Regions from separate parts of the Homo sapiens genome. Here all the other regions are linked to region 2. The links are contacts of gene promoters, found by promoter capture Hi-C in blood cells and fetal thymus (Javierre and others, 2016). All regions are on one chromosome and are shown on one strand. The core of a region is centred on a gene start or on the middle of the fragment in contact, and the rest is flanking DNA. Distances in the headings are between cores, read along the strand shown. Region 1 overlaps UBE3A (ubiquitin protein ligase E3A). Region 2 holds the start of NSMCE3 (NSE3 component of SMC5/6 complex). Region 3 holds the start of UBE3A (ubiquitin protein ligase E3A).

Region 1 (2,700 bases), core at 4-2,503, 3.8 Mb after region 2:
GAAACCCCAAAGTGAGAGTGCCTGATGTGTTTGAAGAACTCGAGGTGTGGCCAGTGTAGCTTTAGAAAAGTAATTGATGGGAAATAGAGAGAATGGAGGGTACAGATATTTTGATCATAATAAGGTGTTTGATTTTTACCTATAAGTGAGATGGGAAGCTATTGGAAGTCTTTGAGCAGAGTAGTGAAAAAGTATGACTTATGTTTAGCAAGGTCACTCTGGTTGCTGTGTTAATCATAGACTGAAAAAGGGGACAAGGGCAGAAACAGACCAATTGGTAGACCATTAGTACAGATTAAGACGTGACTGAAATGGACAGAGTGGTCACAGTGAGGGTGGTGAGAAGTGGTTGAATTCTTGATATATGTTGAAATAGAGTCCATAGGATTTGGTAGTAGACCAGATGAAAGTGGGAAATAAAGGGAGGAGTAAAACATGATGCCAAAGTTTTTTGACCAGAGCAGCTGAGAGAATGGAGTTGGATAATTCTTATAAATTATTGCATTAAATCTGTGCATCATATCACATGCCCACTTAACTACAGGTAATTTTACCATATAAGCTTGTGGGGGGAAAAGAGGAAAAACAGAAAAAAGGATGGAAAAGCATGTTTTAAAATATAATAAATTAGGCCTTAATGAAAAATTGTCCTTGAGAAACCTGAGATGGAATACTCTAAATCTGATGTGTTCTCTCAATCTTTAGAACTGAACTAGGAATTAACTCTGAGAGTTCATGATGTTATGAGACCCTTTGCCTGTTTTGGAAATTCGGTTGTTTTCAATATTTGCTTTTGCAATGATGGTACCTGTTATTTTTTCTGTAAGGTAGATTCCTACAAATAAGATGTCAGGCCATTAGATCATGTCAATCTAAATATTTGATAGGTTTTGCCAATTACCTTTTAAAAAATAATTTTAGCAAGTTTCATTCCTTAAAATATATTAGGGACTGCTCATTTACCTTGTTTTGATTCATGTATATATAAAATCTGTTTAAGTCTTTATAAATAACCTGGGAAATTGCCTGGTTTTTTGGTCCATTTCTATTGTGGTGTTTGTTTTTTAAATTTGTAAGCATTCTTTATATATCATTTAATTCTTTATTATAATTTGCAAATATTATCTCTACCTACCTTTAATTTTATAGTATCTAGTCATGTGAAATTTTAAAGTTTTTATGTAGGCAAATCTGTCCATCTTTTATGGTTTCTGGGTTTCAGCATGCTAACAAAGTTGATATAAATATGATCTCATATATATATTACAAAAACTTTTTAGAGATAGGATCTCACTCTGTCACCCGGGCTGGAGCAACCATAGCTCCCTGCAACCTCAAACTCCTGGGCTCAAGTGATCCTCCTGCCTCAGCTTCCCAAGTAGCTAAGATTATAGACATGTGCCACTATAGCTAGTTGGTTTTTTTTTGGTTGGTTGGTTTTTTTTTTTTTTTTTGGTAGAGAACGTATCTCAGTGTGTTGCCCAGACTGGTCTCAAACTTCTGGCCTCAAGCTATCCTCCCACCTCAGCCTCCCAAAGTGCTGGGATTACAGGCATGAGCTACTATACCTGGCCAATCTCTTGTATTTTCTTCTGATACTTTTGTGATTTTACTTTATAGACTTTAATTTAGAAAGTTAGATATGAGCATTCAGCATATTTTTGGATATGGTATGATATGGTTTAGATCTGGATTGCATTTGTCATGGTTTGGGAATTATATCTACCTTTTATTTTCTTCCACTTGGGTAGCTGATTGTCTTGTAAGGCATCCTTTCCCCACTGATAATGCCACCTTTTTCTATATTAAGTTCTCACAAACTTTGAAAAAAATCAAGTTTATTGATGTATAATTGATACACAATGAAATGCACCCATTTTAACTATATAGTTTTATTGATTTTGATAAATATATACACTATCACTGCTACTACAATCAAGCTTTAGAACAATTGAATTACCTCCAAAAAGTTCCTTCCTGTCTGTAGTCATTTCTCCCTCTTGGCCCCAGGCAACCACTGATCTGTTTATTAGTTTTCCTACTCTAGAATTGCATATCCATGGAATCAAGTAACATGTACTCTTCCATGCCTGGTTTCTTTCACTTGGCATGTTTTTGAGATTCATCCAATTTGTGTTTGTCACAGATTTTTGTTTGTTTCGTTTTTTTAAATACAATATGACTATACCACAGTTCATTCATTTTCTGGTGAACATTTAAATTGTTTTCAGTTTTAGGCTGTTGCGAATAAAGGTACTGTTTTGTGTGCATGTTTTTGTGTGAACATATGTTTTCATTTTTCTAGGGTAAATACCTTAAATTGGAATTACTGGGTCACATGGTAAGTTTATGTTTAAATGTATAAGGAACTGCCAAACTATTTTCCAGATGATTATACTACTTTACATTCCCATCATCAGTGTATGAGAGTTCCAGTTCTCCAAATGTCAGCATTTGATGTTCTCAGTCTTTAATTGCACACGTTCTGAGAGGTGTGTAGTGGTATCCCATTGCAGTGTTTTTTTTTAAGTGGTACTAAAATACACAACATCAAATATACCATTTTAACTATTTTTAAGTGTACAGTTCAGTGACATAAAGTACATTCACATTATTCTGCAGCCATCACCACTATCCATCTCTGAAACTTTTTCATCTTCTCAGTCTGAAACCCTATCCATTAAACAGTAACTCTTCATT
Region 2 (2,805 bases), core at 225-2,724:
TAATTTGCAAGGAAACTGAAGCAGATGAATTTTCTCATTGTAAAAAAATGAATGCCTTGATAATATATTTGTTTTTCATAGTAGGCCTTTGTCATTAAAATTGATGCCTGAGGATATAGTTGCATCTTGTGTGGAACAGTAAGTTATTACTCATTGCATACCAGATTTTAGCATACTTGCATTAGTTCATGGAATATGATTTTACATTTACTATTGCAGTTCCAGTGCCATTATCAGATTGCATTTTCCTACTGAATTACAAACAAAAGTGTTATGCTACTAACAATTAACAAAATTTTAATAAGGTTGTGTTTGATGCTATTACTCAGATAATGTGTTCTAAATTGCTTTCCTTTGAATATATTTGCATTAAAGAGGAACTCAATTTGGTTCTTTGAAGAGTTTATCCACTTTCTGGGTAGCTTTAAAAAGACACAGGGAAATTCAGTTTCTTCTTTGCAAGTAAATAGAGAAGAAACAAATTTGCTAAGATCTGTAGAAGTCATGGCAGCAGACTGCTGATGGTTTGAGTTAATGAAATGACTCATTTTGGCTACTTGAGTTGCACAATTAAAATATACAGTAGAGACTGTATATCACATCATAGATGAGAGATAAATCCCCCAGTGTTCTCTTTTTTTTCCTCAAAGCTAATATATTATGAATTAAGAAATTTAAGAGCTCCACATTATTGCAATTCTTGATCAGTGATGCCCCAAATTAAGTAGTAATCTCTTGAGAGTGCACGTTTGTTTGCAGCATTCCTCTTACCCATTTCTGCTAAAATTGTGGTTGTGACGAAAGCAGTTGTTTTCCAAAAGATAAACCCATGTGACCAAGCTAAAACATTTACCTAATACTGACACGTTTTTTGTGGTCTTCTCATAGTTGTCTAGCTAAAGGAGTTTAATGCAGAGAATATAAATACGGAAATAGTGAAACTGAAGTCCTGCTTGCGCAGAAAGCCTGCAGCCGACTTTGGTTTTTAACAGACTCCACGGGGCATTAGAGAAAGTAACTGGGGGCAGTGGGATGGAGGGTATGAAATTGGGTGGAGGGACGAAAACTAAGAGCCCTCTGGGTCTTTTATGTCCTTCTACATTTTGTGTAGAAATAAATGTTTTTACTTTACTTCCACGGTCGGCCCTTCCTCTTCACCTTTTTTTTTTCTCACACGTTCATCCTCTGAATTCTTTCCGTTTACAAATGCTCCCGATTTAGAAACTCATAATACTGTCTGTAAAACTTGCCTGAGCCTGTGTGGTCTGAATTTAGCGACACACTTGTTTAGGAGTTTCGGTTCTCGCTCTCTGTTTGCATGGTTTGGTAACAACACTTCACTATACTAAAAATCATCGCCCGGACCTGCAGGGCTGCACGGAAAACGCTGTTCCTTTTGGTACCCGCCGCAGCCGCGCAGGCGCACCGCCCAGCCGCCCTGACGCAAGGCGCAGGCTTCATGACGCAGCACGCAGTCTCAGCCGACACTGCGCGCGCCTCCAGGCACCGGCGTTAGCGGGTCGCCGACCCGCAATCCCCGCCGCGGCTGCTTGCCTACCGGAGTGTGCGCCGGCACCTGCCGCCGGAGACATGTTGCAAAAACCGAGGAACCGGGGCCGCTCTGGCGGCCAGGCCGAGAGGGACAGAGACTGGAGCCATAGCGGAAACCCCGGGGCTTCGCGGGCCGGGGAAGACGCCCGGGTTCTCAGAGACGGCTTTGCCGAGGAGGCCCCGAGCACGTCCCGCGGGCCGGGCGGCTCGCAGGGGTCGCAGGGCCCCTCGCCTCAGGGCGCCCGCCGGGCCCAGGCCGCCCCCGCCGTGGGGCCCAGGAGCCAGAAGCAGCTGGAGCTGAAAGTGTCCGAGCTGGTGCAGTTCTTGCTGATTAAAGACCAGAAGAAGATTCCGATCAAGCGGGCCGACATACTGAAGCACGTCATCGGGGACTACAAGGACATCTTCCCCGACCTCTTCAAACGGGCCGCCGAGCGCCTCCAGTACGTCTTCGGGTATAAGCTGGTGGAACTTGAACCCAAGAGCAACACTTACATCCTCATCAACACCCTGGAGCCTGTGGAGGAGGATGCCGAGATGAGGGGTGACCAAGGCACGCCCACTACGGGCCTCCTGATGATCGTCTTAGGGCTCATCTTTATGAAGGGCAACACCATCAAGGAAACTGAAGCCTGGGACTTTCTGCGGCGCTTAGGGGTCTACCCCACCAAGAAGCATTTAATTTTCGGAGATCCAAAGAAACTCATTACTGAGGACTTTGTGCGACAGCGTTACCTGGAATACCGGCGGATACCCCACACCGACCCCGTCGACTACGAATTCCAGTGGGGCCCGCGAACCAACCTGGAAACCAGCAAGATGAAAGTTCTTAAGTTTGTGGCCAAGGTCCATAATCAAGACCCCAAGGACTGGCCAGCGCAGTACTGTGAGGCTTTGGCAGATGAGGAGAACAGGGCCAGACCTCAGCCTAGTGGCCCAGCTCCATCCTCTTGAAAGGTGGATTCAGAGGGACCCCCGGGACAAGGGTCTGAGACCCAAAGGCACAGTTTAGAGGATTGGGGGAAGGGAGAACGAACCCAGGGAGCATATTGCTGTAAACGCTTCAATGTGTGTAGCTTTAGGATGTGTTTGCAAAGTTTTGTTTTTTTAATGTTGTGTTATTTTGCTCCAGATTTTCATCTATAAACAAAGGAGCATTTGTTTTGATTTTACTCTTTTTGGTATAAAAAATTTTGCTAGCTTAGTAAAACGAATTGGAAAACTTGACTATGATCTGGAACAGATAATGCAAGA
Region 3 (2,874 bases), core at 102-2,601, 3.8 Mb after region 2:
AATCGAATATGGCTTAATACTATCATTATCATCAGTTGTCCTGGAATAACTTAAATTCTTCTAGCTTATTGTTGGTTTTTCAATGGTTGGTTATAGTTGTGAGGCGGATACACACACACACCCACACACTTGGCTATACAAAAAAGATGTTCCGAGACTGACAGTTAAAAATTACACTGCTGGCCGAGCACTGTGGCTCATGCCTGTAGTCCCAAAACTTTGGGAGGCCGAGGTGGGAGGATCACTTGAGGCCAGGAGCTCGAGACCAGCCTGGGCCTAACATAGCAAGACACCATTTCTAAGTTTAAAAATAAAAATAAATTTAAAAAAGATACACTGCTATGTACGACTGTTGATATAAAAAATCTGAATACTAGACATGGGTACTCATCTAGTACTTCAAGGGCTTATCAACAAAGTTGCAAGTTGTAACACTATGAATTGTTAGTGATACTCTTTTGGCTTTGCTAGCAAGTGTTGTAAAGCTATACACACACACACACACACACACACACATACACACACACACCTTTTAAAATGGTGACCCTGGTACCAAATATGACTTTAAATGGATTTAATTTTAATGGCTTTAACTACGTTCAGCTGTCATATGGATCAAAATTAGCCTCTATCCAGCTGGGGTCAACCAGGGAGCCACTTTTCTTAACCGACGACCTACTGAACGTCAACAACTGCAGGAGACGGGACTTTACCTTCGTCTCTGGTAAACTAGTTGACACATCCTGTGTTGGCAAGAGGCCTAAGTAGATGACCTTGGTCCTCTAAAATCTGGCCTGCACTCTCGGGGCACCCCTGCAACATCTACAAAGGCAGCTCCAGATAGAAAAGGGTTGGGGTCGAAAAGCCAATAACGGCAGGCACCTGCCCCGCCTCGGGGCTGGGGGGCTATTCCAGCGGCTTCAGCTAACTTTCAGAGCCATTCGTTTCCCAACAAAGTCTGAGGCGTTCCTCTGCTGGGTACACCAAGGGGCTCTGCAACCCTCCTGGGGGGGGGGGTGCCCAGAGGGCTTCCGGAAGTCCCAGGTTTATTCTTTCGGGTCACAGACAGCAGAAACTAAAAAGAGGGATTACCCTTTCTGTCCAGTCGCAAGATGGCGACCGAGCCTGGTGGGACTCCGAGGGGCCGCAGGCCACCTCCTCTTCCCAATGGCCCGTGCGCCGGCGGCGACGGCAAGCGGGAGGGAGGCGGGGCCGGCGAAGGAAGGAGGGGCGGAGCGCGGCGCCCTCCCGCGCGTCTTGGCCCCGCCCCACGTCCCCGCGTCCCGGCCTGGAGCCCTCGCCCGGCCGGGCGGCGCGCGCTGCCTGCCGGGATACTCGGCCCGCCCAGCCAGTCCTCCCGTCTTGCGCCGCGGCCGCGAGATCCGTGTGTCTCCCAAGATGGTGGCGCTGGGCTCGGGGTGACTACAGGAGACGACGGGGCCTTTTCCCTTCGCCAGGACCCGACACACCAGGCTTCGCTCGCTCGCGCACCCCTCCGCCGCGTAGCCATCCGCCAGCGCGGGCGCCCGCCATCCGCCGCCTACTTACGCTTCACCTCTGCCGACCCGGCGCGCTCGGCTGCGGGCGGCGGCGCCTCCTTCGGCTCCTCCTCGGAATAGCTCGCGGCCTGTAGCCCCTGGCAGGAGGGCCCCTCAGCCCCCCGGTGTGGACAGGCAGCGGCGGCTGGCGACGAACGCCGGGATTTCGGCGGCCCCGGCGCTCCCTTTCCCGGCCTCGTTTTCCGGATAAGGAAGCGCGGGTCCCGCATGAGCCCCGGCGGTGGCGGCAGCGAAAGAGAACGAGGCGGTGGCGGGCGGAGGCGGCGGGCGAGGGCGACTACGACCAGTGAGGCGGCCGCCGCAGCCCAGGCGCGGGGGCGACGACAGGTCAGTGTTGCCGCGGCCTGCGCCAGGCGGCGCTGGCTCCCCTCCGTCACTCGGCCGGCCTTCGGGGCCCGCTGTGGCGAGGTCGACACCCCCCTTCCCCGCCCCCCGCCGCCGAGGCGAGTGTTTGGGGGCGCGTGGTCCGAAGGGGCTGGTGCCAGAAGTAGGCCCCTGGTGGCCGCGGCTGCTGCAGCCGTAACTGTCAGTCCTGGCTGAGCGACGGCGGGAGGGTTTTGTCGCCCGAGGGGACGCGAGCGGGCCCGGGGCGGGGCGGGACGTGCGAGGCGTCGAGATTTGGGCCTCCTAGGAGCCAGGCTCTTCGAGCCAGCCGGGGCCCCAGACAGGGAAGGGCAGGCCCTTTCCTTCAAAGGGGAGCCCTTTCTCGGCGTTTTCAAGGTTTTTGGCTCTCTTGGGGAAGACATATTTAGCCGTGTGCTTGGTGGGTTGGGGTTTTGGGGGTGGATTGATGGGAAGGGAGGGCGGATGAAGTGGTATGTCAAGCCCAAGGGTTGTGCGCACAGGTTACTCTGTGTTACCGGCCACCAGGATTTCTGAAGTTGAACGTGAGTTATTGGCTTTGCCAGAGACTGCTGTGTTATATGCAGACCTGTATGCAAGCAGTTGGCCTTTTTTCCCCCCCCTTTTCAGTGTAGAAAATGAAAAGGATGCTTTCCTCATCTTGGTGGTAAAGGCTTTTGTTGGTAAAGGTAGAATTGAATGTACCAAATGCCTTAGTCCGTAAAATTTTAGAAATAATTTTAATACAGACACTGGTGAAGCTTGGCAACCTTGAAAGAGAATTTAGCGTCTACATTTTTTAAATGACTTTTTATGGATATGCTAAATTAGTAACAGTCCAAAATCTGTTTGAGATTATTAAGTGGCGAGGGTGCTGTTGAAAATGTAAACTAATAGCATATGGGGTTTACAGTGCACAGTTAACCTCAATCATGAAGAAATGTGGATATGACCCGTAATTTTGGATCATTTT

The links. The method cuts DNA at HindIII sites, captures the fragments that hold promoters and counts their contacts. A CHiCAGO score of 5 or more calls a contact.
Region 1: a contact is called between a fragment that was not itself captured here and the fragment with the promoter of NSMCE3 in region 2, in 1 of 17 cell types (total B cells). The highest score is 5.1, in total B cells.
Region 3: a contact is called between the fragment with the promoter of UBE3A here and the fragment with the promoter of NSMCE3 in region 2, in 1 of 17 cell types (total B cells). The highest score is 7.3, in total B cells.

What each region holds. Positions count from the first base shown.
Region 1 is chr15:25,421,567-25,424,266 of GRCh38, reverse strand. All of the region lies in intron 1 of UBE3A (ubiquitin protein ligase E3A), which reads left to right. Among named protein-coding and RNA genes, the nearest start is that of UBE3A, 16 kb to the left of the region's middle. The HindIII fragment of the contact is 1,378 bases long and covers 565-1,942 here.
Region 2 is chr15:29,268,491-29,271,295 of GRCh38, reverse strand. NSMCE3 (NSE3 component of SMC5/6 complex) reads left to right here and starts at 1,474. Exons shown (of 1, transcript NM_138704.4): 1 at 1,474-2,805. The coding sequence starts at 1,591. The coding sequence ends at 2,505. All of the region lies in intron 2 of ENTREP2 (endosomal transmembrane epsin interactor 2), which reads left to right. RefSeq lists enhancers at 1,178-1,677, 1,678-2,179. The HindIII fragment of the contact is 8,019 bases long and covers 1-2,805 here.
Region 3 is chr15:25,437,501-25,440,374 of GRCh38, reverse strand. It overlaps UBE3A (ubiquitin protein ligase E3A), which reads left to right and starts at 1,351. Exons shown (of 13, transcript NM_130839.5): 1 at 1,351-1,886. RefSeq lists enhancers at 344-1,289, 1,290-2,235 and silencers at 1,087-1,426, 1,787-2,206. The HindIII fragment of the contact is 4,364 bases long and covers 1-2,664 here.